Linked DNA regions of Homo sapiens: region 1 is linked to region 2. The links are contacts of gene promoters, found by promoter capture Hi-C in blood cells and fetal thymus (Javierre and others, 2016). All regions are on one chromosome and are shown on one strand. Each heading gives the region's core, a stretch centred on a gene start or on the middle of the fragment in contact. The rest is flanking DNA. Distances are from core to core; before and after follow the strand shown. Region 1 overlaps CEBPG (CCAAT enhancer binding protein gamma). Region 2 holds the start of CEBPA (CCAAT enhancer binding protein alpha).

Evidence for each region. The method cuts DNA at HindIII sites, captures the fragments that hold promoters and counts their contacts. A CHiCAGO score of 5 or more calls a contact.
Region 1: a contact is called between a fragment that was not itself captured here and the fragment with the promoter of CEBPA in region 2, in 5 of 17 cell types (M0 macrophages, M2 macrophages, M1 macrophages and 2 more). The highest score is 10.6, in M0 macrophages.

The regions. Positions count from the first base shown.
Region 1 is chr19:33,376,253-33,382,033 of GRCh38, forward strand. It overlaps CEBPG (CCAAT enhancer binding protein gamma), which reads left to right. Exons shown (of 2, transcript NM_001806.4): 2 at 2,892-5,781. The coding sequence starts at 2,988. The coding sequence ends at 3,440. Among named protein-coding and RNA genes, the nearest start is that of CEBPG, 5.4 kb to the left of the region's middle. RefSeq lists an enhancer at 1,551-2,244. The HindIII fragment of the contact is 3,365 bases long and covers 2,217-5,581 here.
Region 2 is chr19:33,298,535-33,304,431 of GRCh38, forward strand. It overlaps CEBPA (CCAAT enhancer binding protein alpha), which reads right to left and starts at 4,000. Exons shown (of 1, transcript NM_004364.5): 1 at 1,400-4,000. The coding sequence starts at 3,880. The coding sequence ends at 2,804. CEBPA-DT (CEBPA divergent transcript) reads left to right here and starts at 4,287. Exons shown (of 1, transcript NR_026887.2): 1 at 4,287-5,897. RefSeq lists silencers at 3,831-4,400, 4,481-4,740. The HindIII fragment of the contact is 12,770 bases long and covers 1,885-5,897 here.

The DNA.
Region 1 (5,781 bases), core at 2,649-5,148, 78 kb after region 2:
GAAAATTCTTGATAGGTTTATTTTCCCAGGTGAAACTTGAGAAAAATTTGATTTTGTTTTACTCATTCTAACATTCTGCGCTTTCAGTGTGACTGACGTGAATGAACATTACTTGAATTAAGTTTGAATTAAAACAAAGCCTATTACCCACTTAGTCCACCATTCTCAATATTCATTGGGAATCAGCAGCAGAGGCCCTCAGACTTCAGTGTATTCAGAGTTACTTGGAGGTCTCCTTATGAAAAGATTACTCAGCTCTGTTCTTAGAACTCCTGATTCTAAGTCTGGGGCAGCCTGAGAAGTTACATTTCTAAAGAGTTCCTGGATGATGATGATGCTGGTCCAGGGACCACACTTTGAGAACCACTGCTCTTCAGCTTTCCTGCTGTTTCCTCCTTGAGTGATTCACATGGAAGGAAGCCAGGCGCCGCCCTGCATCCTGTAGCCTGAACTTTGGAATAGTGTTTGTCCACAGAGGAGCCAGACTTGAATTTAGGACTGAGTGTCCAGCTTTCAAATAAACACTTTTTGCCTGTTGTAGGTGTTCAGTAAATGTGTGTGGAGGAACAAAGCGTAAATGAGAGTGGCCTTTTCAGTGTAAAATCACTTAGCTCTTTGATCCCCTTTTACTTGGTTAATCTTCACTTTAAGAGCTATTTATATGGTTAAAGAACTTACTAAACAAAACATTCTTGGAGTTATTTTGATTATCTCCAAGTTTCTCTTTCTTACATTTTCACCAGTTTGTAGGTTCAGTGAATACTCTTTTCAGGCCAAAGGGCTTACCTTTAAAACCTCACCTACCACACACGTTCAGCCTAGTACCTTGCAAGATGAGTCAGGCAGAGGTGAAAAAGCCCTTCCCTGTTCCTGTATCTTTGGATACGGAAACAGGCGTGAACGTTGCTGAACGTGGACCCTGTAGTGAGTAAGAGCTGTTTGTTAGTGACTGAAGGTCGTGGTGTGTTGTCTGTAGGAAAGTGTCTTACTATTCCACATCCCTCATTTGCATGTGGGGAACAGACAGCCATGGAAGAAAAGAGATTTGCCCAAACTAAAATAGGGGGAGCCACAGCCAAGACAAGAACTGGCCTGGTCACTGGTCTCTACCGCTTTGGATCATTGCTATCTCTGAGCATGGACAAGTTGACTGTAGAGAGCTTTAAAGGCTAAAAATATAATTGGTATATTAAAAAAAAAGTAGAGAAATAAGGTGAACATGATTATGATTGTTAAGACAGTCTCAGGGGAGGTGTTAAACAAGTTCTTAAAAATTGAGTAAAGCACCTCTCACTTGACACCAAATGGATAATAATAATGTTAGGTGGCACTAAATGTGGCTCAGATTAATACTAAACAGCCACTTTTCTACTGGAAGAAAAATGAGGCAACCTAATGATGACCAAGGGAAATTGTGAACTGTCCATTACTGAAGATAGGCTTGGAGTGGATCGCCCTCATGGTTTGGAGGGATGCTTTTTGTCTTGCCTTAGTGTTGGCGTGAGAACAGATGACCTACTAGCTCAGAGTCGGCTGTGTGGCTTTGAAAACAATGGAAAGTAATGACACATGGACTTTTCAAAGCAAAGATGTTTTTTAAAAAGAGACCAATAAACAGTGTACAGAATTGCCTGGCTGAAGGTTTGGGTGTAGCTACTGGTGTTTGCTAACTGAGCTTTCCCTCATTGTGGGATCACTGCATAAATCTGACTCCAGATTTTTTCCACTGATGTGATTTTAGCAGTTTTGTGAAAAGAGAACAGGATAGTTTTATGTTCCTAACACTGCTTTCTAAATTTCTAAGAGTGCCCTGATTCCTTGGTGGACACCGTTCACTGAACTTAGTTTGTCTTGAAGTGGCCTCATGTTGATAGGATAGTCACACTTTTACACTTCTTGGGGCAGCTGTAGGGACTTAATTGGATTCAGAGTAATCCACATGTGACTGCTTTTCGAAACCGTGCCTTCATTTCTGCAGGCAGCAGCACAGGGATGCTTCAGAGCTGGTGCGTCCTCCGAGCTCACACGAGCTCATTTGGTAGCACGAAGTGGCCACAGGCACGGCAGCTGCTCAGCTCCTTTGTCCAGCCTGGGTCCCAGGACCCGCACTTCCTTGGATGCATCATGAGGGCTTCTGTTTCTTTCCTTGTGGTTTCAGGTTGAGTGTGTTTTGAGTTTTACTAATTATGTCAAGAAGAAAAAACACACTTTTTACAAGCTTGGTGGGATGGGGAGCAAATTGAGTGTCAGAGCTCCTAAATTCAAGAAACTGACTCAGTAAATTTGGTTAAACTGTGGAATTATCATTTGAGGTCATTAAAAAAATAAAGCAAAAAACTACCTTTTCAAAATATCCGATGAAGAGAGCTCTGGGAGAGAACTCAAGTCCTCGATGACTCCCTCTCTGCATATTAGAACATGGAACCCGCAGGGGTGATAGCATGAGAGCGCTGGAGACAGGGTGCGCAACCCCAGCCTTCTGTTTTGACTTGAACCAACAATGGAAACTTTTCCCCCCTTTCATTGCAGGTGTCTCTCCTACTACAGTCAGCTGCAGCTCCTCCCTGGGAGATTGTCAAGTGCTGTTAGTTCACATGCGCCACCTAATTAGTGGAAGTCTTTTGTTTTCCTCCCATTTTTGATAACAATCGCAGAGGGGCAGTGCCCTCAGGGATCCAGGTGGGCTGAGTTTCGCCTGATGGTGCTTCTGTGCTTACTTACCTTTCTAAGTGAAATGATTTAGACTTCAGAAACATTGGAACAGTTGGCAGTTGCTGTAGACTTTTCTCAGCAGAATCAATTAATGTTGGCCTGATGTTAGGTACGTACAAGTTTGATCTCATTTGATCCTGTCATTTCAAATATTTTAATGCAATTTATTTTTTAACTAGGTACATGTGAAGATTTTTTGGCAGCTTAGCGTGGAAACCATTGATCACCCTGCTCTCATTTCTACCTGTTCTGTGTTGGCAAGGGAGAGTGCCCAAATGAGCAAGATATCGCAGCAAAACAGCACTCCAGGGGTGAACGGAATTAGTGTTATCCATACCCAGGCACATGCCAGCGGCTTACAGCAGGTTCCTCAGCTGGTGCCTGCTGGCCCTGGGGGAGGAGGCAAAGCTGTGGCTCCCAGCAAGCAGAGCAAAAAGAGTTCGCCCATGGATCGAAACAGTGACGAGTATCGGCAACGCCGAGAGAGGAACAACATGGCTGTGAAAAAGAGCCGGTTGAAAAGCAAGCAGAAAGCACAAGACACACTGCAGAGAGTCAATCAGCTCAAAGAAGAGAATGAACGGTTGGAAGCAAAAATCAAATTGCTGACCAAGGAATTAAGTGTACTCAAAGATTTGTTTCTTGAGCATGCACACAACCTTGCAGACAACGTACAGTCCATTAGCACTGAAAATACGACAGCAGATGGCGACAATGCAGGACAGTAGACCTCACCCTTTCCAGACTTTAGAGCTTGTGGCTTGAATGTTAAAGGTGTGACCACCGACACCACTCATGTCAATGGCTGAAAGTTGTCCATTTCCATGACTCAAAGACCCATTGGAGGCTATTTTCTGGGATCAGCACTGAAGAGTTGATTAGCTAAAAATGTTAGCCTTGTAATTCGAATATCTGGTTTTAAATGATAGAGGTTTTTGTGGGAATCAAAATCCCCCAAATGTTAAGGTATATGGTAAAAAAAGAAATATCTGGGATCCCGATGTTCTTAATAAATCCTGACTTCCCAAGAAATGCTTCTTTTTTAAGTTGACAAAAGGAATGGGGAACTGGCAGGCCGCGCAGAAGGTTCTTGGTTTTAATGGATAGGCTGAATTGGATTAAGAAAAGTTGAATGCCACCTATGGTAATCTATTTGTGATTTTCTTCTAAATTATGTATTATAAATTCGTAGAGCTATAGAAAGCAATGAGTGTGTAATTTGGAGTGATTTTATATATGGCATAAACTTTGTTTTAACATAATTAGTACTGTTTTCCCCCAAAAGTACAAGTTTTTGAGTAGCAATGTCAGGTTAAGTAAAGAAACTTCATCACATCTTATAGGTAGTGTGTGGCCAATTGACTTAAAAAATACAAATAACATTTAGGAAGCAAATAGATTAAACACAAAAATAAAACTAAAGCATAGGAATTATGTTTTTGAGATACCTTTGGGCTTAGATTGGCATTGTTTTATTCTAAAAACCCAACTCAGTGGTGTAGAGAAACTTGTGTACCAAAATTTTAGTTTCTGCAGATGCTAGTGTTTTTTTGGATACAATTTTGACAACCAAGTTAGTAAACAAAATATCTTAACAGTTTGATGACACAAGCTACTGATGAGGGTTTGGAATATTAATTCAGAAGGTAGTTTCTCTTGTGTTCAAAATAGCTGCCATGGGGCTGTTACTTTTAAAGTCAAAATTTTCTTCTGAAGGCTCATTTTGGTATTTGATCTTAACCAAGTGATTATTAGAGAAATGTATCAACTCCATGCCATCTCCCAAAATAATTGTCTAAGAAAACTTGAAAGTGTAAGGTTTTAACCTTTAATTTATTTCTCTTAAATACATCTTTTGATATTGTTGTTGTGACATTTCTTTTTCTGGTTAGTGGGCTTTCCAGACTTTGTACCACTGCTTCTGTTTATTCATTTATATGCTTTTGTGTCCCATAAATTATTTCAGAAAATGCTGATAAAACTCAGGATATTGACATTTTTGTTGAGACTAAAAAATGGCAGTCGCTAAAGTAGGGACTCTAGAGTCTGGCTTACGTCAGTGTTGGTAGTTTAGATTGTCTTTGTCAACGTTTTTTCTTCTCTCTTTTGCTTTCTTTTCTTTCTCTTTTTTTCTTAGCACAGTTCTAGCTCAAATTTGTGTATTTTTTGTGTGCCTGGGCTGGAGATGAGAGACTGAGTCATAACTGATTTAAAAGTTTGTGTTATCAGGTATCTTATTTGAACATGGTCATTTTTGGCCACATTGCTGTTTCATACTAGGACTTGGGATGATGTAGCCAGAATAAAACTCAAGTTGCACCCTCCGGTTGGTGGAAGATTGCTGACCGTGCCGTTTCTGGGCAGGAGAAGACATCATGGTGTCCAGCAACTCAGCAAAGCCATTCTTAAGAGTCGTGAGGTCCTTCTGAATGTAAAACTGGAGCCCAGGAGAAGCTGTCCCAGGAGGGCTGTTAACTCCCTATAGAGCCAGGAGACAGGATAGGGGTTTCTAGGGTCCAACACCAGCTTACCTTGGAGTATGAATCTACCCATGAAGGATGAGAGATGTTTTGAAAAACTAGCCAGGACACACCCACAGGATCCTACTGGCTCCTTAGCAGCTGATTGGTGTTACATAATTAACTTAATTGGAGATGCATTAGGTCACTTGAATGTATAAGCAAGCACCTATGGTAGGCGCTACAGACATTTAAATCTCTTGGGAATTCGATGCTCCCATGGAATTTATACCAGTTATATGAATTGACTTAAGTATCTTGAAAAAGAAACTTTAGAGAAAGCATCAGGGGTGTGTACTCAGTATTTCAAATCAGAACACAAGATTGGAACTTTTGGAAAAATGGGTTCAAGCTTTCCTATTAGCCATGGAAATGCAAAGTTTAGCAGAAGCAAGCAATTAGGCAGAGAACAAAAATGTTAAGCATGGTGTTGTCTATCTTATTGAAGTGGTTGGAAATGAAAGCTTTTAATTTGATAGATTTATCAGTATAAAATTAGGGAAACCACGTGTGGGGAATGAATCAATTTAGAGCTTCGGGAATTGTGAGG
Region 2 (5,897 bases), core at 2,750-5,249:
AAGGAGTGAGGGCAGGAGGGTCGCCCCACCCCCTCCCGTCCTAGGACCTGTTCTGGGGGGAAAGGGGGAAGCCAGGGATCAGCCCCCTCAAACAAGAAAAACTGGAATTAGCACTGAACTCAGAGGGTTTGCTGGGGCTTAGCAAGCTGCGACCTGCCCCAGGCCTCGGGGCACGCGGCGGGGCTCTGCCTCCTCTGTTCCCAGGGTGGCGGGGCAGGCGCCGCCTCCTCACTGGGCTCGTGGCCTCTCCTCTGCCAAGGGCGGCCGTGGGTGAGGAGGCGGCCAGACACAGGACAGAGTGGGGGGCCGGAAGGGGTGCCAGCTAACCACGCAGGCAGGTAAAGCTAAGCTTCCAGAGTGTAAAAGGAATGTGTAATTTCTCGAAAATGCCCCAGCCCGCATTGGTACACACAGTAAGCCACTCAGTGAACATTCTCTCGGTACAGAGTTAAAAAAAAAAGAAAAGTGCAATTTATCTTTTACCCTCCGTGAGGGTAAAATCTGAAAAGCACCATCAGCCTCCTGGGCCTCTTTCTCCCGGGCCTTGTTAGTTCAGGGATAAGGGCTGCCCTCCCTTGCTTGGCTGTCACTGCTGCTAAGGGGGTGCCGGAGTGCCTGACCTTACAGGGTGCTCATTGGAGTTGGGGGCACACCAGCACTCAGTCCCCTGCTGGGTCTGGGATGAATGCAGTGGGGAGTGTGGATGCTGGGTGGGTTCTTGAACAGCCAGTGTGTGGGGCAGGACCAGACCCCTGTTGCAGGCCTGCCTCAGCCCCCTTTCTTGTGAGGGCTGGGGCTGGGCAGGTGTGGAGGGCTGGATGGAGGGGTCTCTCTCTTCAGGCTGCCTTCGGGCCTCGCAGGGGTAGGGTGTAGCCACATGGTCTAGGGAAAGAGGAGAGGGTTGGAGGGTCCTACCACTGGAGGCCTCTTCCTGCTGGCCGAGGGTCCTGCTGGAATCTGGAGCTGCGGTGTGTGTGAGTGGCCAGGGCTGCAGCTGTAGGTGATTTGCAAGGAAGTCTGCACAAAGGGCTCCTTGAGCCTAGGGCTGCTTAGCCAGGCCTACCCCTCAGGCAGAGGACTCCCTCTCCTCCTCCCCGGGGCAGATAAGAAGCCTCGCCAAGGCCTCAGCCCAGTAACCCCTTCAGCCCCCTCCCCTGACCCCAAGAGACTGCCTTCAGGCTCTGGACATACTCCATTTGGAGCCTTGTCCTCTGCTATTTATTTGTCTTGCCTGGGGGAAGTAAGTCACCCCCTTAGGGTAAGAGGGGCTCAGGATGGATGGAGAGCTCATGAAAGTCAGGATTGCCGCCAGGGAAAATGCTGTATTATTTACAAATGTGACCTGGCCCACAGACAACCTTGGAAGTAGCTTCTTTCTGGTTTTAAAAAGACACCGACATTGACTTTGATATGTTTATATTATAGATATAATACATAAAACATCTAGAGTGAGACTCTACGTTCTCCCCAAAAGAAGAGAACCAAGCCGTCCTTCCCTGCTCCCAGCCCCAGTGATGCGTTGGCGGGAGGCCACCTCCCTTCCCGACCAGGAGCCAGGGCCTCTGGGGGACAAGCCTTGTGGGCAGCCCAGGCCGGAGGGGCTGGGGAAAGCTGAGGGCAAAGGAGAACCCCCCTCACCTCATTGGTCCCCCAGGATCAAAAGTAATCCCAAAACCAAAAGGAAAGGGAGTCTCAGACCCTTCCCCCAGCTGCCGACGGAGAGTCTCATTTTGGCAAGTATCCGAGCAAAACCAAAACAAAACAAAAACCAAATAAAATGGTGGTTTAGCAGAGACGCGCACATTCACATTGCACAAGGCACTGCTGGGGCACAGAGGCCAGATACAAGTGTTGATATCGGCTGATAAAGCAAAATATTTGGAAAGCTTGTCATAACTCCGGTCCCTCTGGGATGGACTGATCGTGCTTCGTGTTCCTAGGCAATGCTGAAGGCATACAGTACAAACAAGGCTGAGGGTCCCAGTGGCCCTTCACCCCCCATGCCCGCCCCACAGCCAGATCTCTAGGTCTCCCTCTCCCACCAGGGGTATACATCCTCAGAGCTGACCCACGACCTAGCTTTCTGGTGTGACTCGGGGTGGGGGCTCCCACTGGTCACCTGGTGACCCCCATCGCAGTGAGTTCCGCCCCAAGGGGAAGCCCAGCCTATAGCAGGCTGGGGTGGGGTGTGTGCGGAGGGAGGTGGGAGAGGCGTGGAACTAGAGACCCTCCACCTTCATGTAGAACTAGGGGAACAACCTTAGGTTCCAAGCCCCAAGTCCCTATGTTTCCACCCCTTTCTAAGGACAGGCGTGGAGGAGCGGCTGGGGCTGGCGGGCTTGTCGGGATCTCAGCTCCCTGAGCCCTCCTCCTGCCACGGGCCTGCTCCCCTCCTTCTCTCATGGGGGTCTGCTGTAGCCTCGGGAAGGAGGCAGGAAACCTCCAAATAAAATGACAAGGCACGATTTGCTCCCCCTACTCAGTAGGCATTGGAGCGGTGAGTTTGCATTTCCAAGGCACAAGGTTATCCTAAATACTAGAGTTGCCGGGCTCCCAGCTCAGCCCCAAGAATTCTCCCCTCCTCGCAGGGAGAAGCCACCGCCTGGCCCCCTCATCTTAGACGCACCAAGTCCGGCGCAGAGGAAGGGAGGGGACACGCGGAGCAGGCCAGGCTTTCAGGAGGCACCGGAATCTCCTAGTCCTGGCTCGCACGGCTCGGGCAAGCCTCGAGATCCGGCGACCCCAAACCACTCCCTGGGTCCCCGCCGGAGGCTGGCCCAGGGCGGTCCCACAGCCGCGCGCCTCACGCGCAGTTGCCCATGGCCTTGACCAAGGAGCTCTCTGGCAGCTGGCGGAAGATGCCCCGCAGCGTGTCCAGTTCGCGGCTCAGCTGTTCCACCCGCTTGCGCAGGCGGTCATTGTCACTGGTCAGCTCCAGCACCTTCTGCTGCGTCTCCACGTTGCGCTGCTTGGCCTTGTCGCGGCTCTTGCGCACCGCGATGTTGTTGCGCTCGCGCCGCACCCGGTACTCGTTGCTGTTCTTGTCCACCGACTTCTTGGCCTTGCCCGCGCCGCTGCCGCCACTCGCGCGGAGGTCGGGGTGCGCGGCGCCCAGCCCCTTGAGCGCGCTGCCAGGGCCCGGCAGGCCGGCGGCACCGAGCGCGGGCGCGGGGTGCGGGCTGGGCACGGGCGTGGGCGGCGGCGTGGGGTGACCGGGCTGCAGGTGCATGGTGGTCTGGCCGCAGTGCGCGATCTGGAACTGCAGGTGCGGGGCGGCCAGGTGCGCGGGCGGCGGGTGCGGGTGCGGGTGCGAGGGCGGCGGCGGCGGCGGCGGCTGGTAAGGGAAGAGGCCGGCCAGCGCCAGCTGCTTGGCTTCATCCTCCTCGCGGGGCTCCTGCTTGATCACCAGCGGCCGCAGCGCCGGCGCCCCGACGCGCTCGTACAGGGGCTCCAGCCTGCCGTCCAGGTAGCCGGCGGCCGCGCAGCCGTAGCCGGGCGGGGGCCCGTGCGCTCCCCCGGGCATGACGGCGCCGCCGGGGCCCGCGGGCGCGCCCGGGTAGTCAAAGTCGCCGCCGCCGCCGCCGCCCGTGGGGCCCACGGCCGCCTTGGCCTTCTCCTGCTGCCGGCTGTGCTGGAACAGGTCGGCCAGGAACTCGTCGTTGAAGGCGGCCGGGTCGATGTAGGCGCTGATGTCGATGGACGTCTCGTGCTCGCAGATGCCGCCCAGCGGCTCCGGGGCGGCAGGTGGGGCGGGAGGCTGCGCGGGGCCCGCGCCCCGGGGAAAGCCGAAGGCGGCGCTGCTGGGCGCGTGCGGGGGGCTCTGCAGGTGGCTGCTCATCGGGGGCCGCGGCTCCGCCTCGTAGAAGTCGGCCGACTCCATGGGGGAGTTAGAGTTCTCCCGGCATGGCGAGCCTCGGCGGCCTCCAGCCTGCGCGGGGCGTCGCCGCCGCCCACCCGGAGACCCTGCTCGCCCGCGCCCGCGCACCTCCGGGTCGCGAATGGCCCGGCCCGCGCCGGCCCAGCTTTTATACCCGGCAGGCCGCGTCGCCCCCTAGAGTCCGAGGCGGCCTCTGTCCCCGGGCTGCGGCGGCGCGGCGCCTGCTGGGTCCTAGCGCGCGGCCGGCATGGGGCGGCGAACCAGCGCGGCACAGCGCCGCGCTCCCCAGGCAGGCCGCGGCGCAACGCCCACCGCCTCCAGCGCGCCCAGCAGAGCCGCGGCGCTCGCTCCAAGCTCCGCCCCCGGCCCGGCCGTCGCCCCCGCGCCCACGTGGTCGGTAGCGGGGGCCCCCTCCTCCTGCCTGCCCTAGGCGCCCGTATCCAGCCACGGCCGGGAGCCCAGGAGTATCCCGAGGCTGCACGGGGTAGGGGTGGGGGGCGGAGGGCGAGTCTTGGTCTTGAGCTGCTGGGGCGCGGATTCTCTTTCAAAGCCAGAACCAGGCCTGTCCCGGACCCGCGTCCCGGGGAGGCTGCAGCGCAGAGCAGCGGGGCTGGGGCCGGTGGGGGGCCGTTTGGGACGCGCGGAGAGGTCCTGAGCGCGGTGGCTCTGCGTCTCCTAGCTCTGATCTCCAGGCTACCCCTGTGATTCCGCGCAGAGGTACCTCTCGGAGGACGCCGGGGTCCCATGGGCGGCGCCGCGCAGGGCGCTAGGACCCCGCGGGGAGCGGAGGCGGCCTCGGCCCGGGAGCCTGGAGGACCTGGCCGGTCGATCCGCCCGGGCTGGAAAACTTTCTTTATAATTACTTCTCCAGGTCGGAGCGCGCGGCTTGCTAGGCGCGCGGGGCCGGCGCTGTTACCCGGCGTGGAGTCGCCGATTTTTTTTCCTGCGGGACCGCGGGGCCCCCCAGACTAGCGGAGCTGGACGCCGGGGCGAGCACGGGGAGGGGCGCACCGAGGGAGGAGACAAACTTAACTCTGGGGCCGGGATTCCGAGGCGGGGGCCGCAGCCCTCGAGGCCCGAAGCCACCGCTTCCTCCCCCGCCTCCCCATTCAGGTGGGCGCCAACGGCGGGAGCGAGGGTGTCCAGGCCGCCGGGCTGCCAGGTCCGAGCACGCACAGGGAGAACTCTGCCCAGTGGTTCGCCGGGCGCTGTAGTCCCCGGGATCCTAGGGACCGAGGCGGCCAGGCCCTGGGGCCCCTTGAGTGCGGCAGCTAATGCTCTCACCGCGGCGGGGGAAGGAGCTTGCCACCGAGACCCCCAGCCACGTGCGTCCCTCGCATTCTTTACCGGGGCCGGGGTGGCGGCTACGGACCGTCAGCTGGGCCCAGATGGAGTCTTGGGAGCCCTCAAGTGTCTCCTGTCCTTGCCCGCGCCGCCCCTCGCCACTGGCGCTGAGGCCTGACGCCGCCTGCGTCCCGGCTAGAGGCGCGCTTGCCTACAGGTGAGGGAAGACCCCCTTCACCGACAGTGGCCTTAGGCCTGGCAAGGCGCCACGACCCGCCCAGGAGCCCCGGAGGGGGCACAGCTAAAAACACCGCTGGAGAGCCCCGAGCTTCCACGACGATCGCAGTAAAGAAGCAGTTTCATCTGGGCAACGCACACTGCGCTTTAATCAAGTTCCTATTCAACATAGTCCCAGTGATTAATAGCCCAACTGCTTCGTTTTCGGTCCAGAGCTCATAAACAAGATATTTTTAGCTTGACGCTTTTGGACGGGAGGGAGTAAAAACCAGATACGTTAAATAAATATCCCGATGTGAGCCGGAGAGCTGCTTGCTGAGCCAAATGCAGGACCCATTCATATAGCATTCACCTGTGGAGGGAGACCTGGACGGAAATCAAAAAGCACCAAGAGCGATTTGCGTTTTTTTCTGCGGTGCTAAAACTAATGGCTTTTCCTACCTAGGAACAAAGAAACGCCACTGTACATGCACGGTTCCCGGCCTGTGGAGTTGTGGGA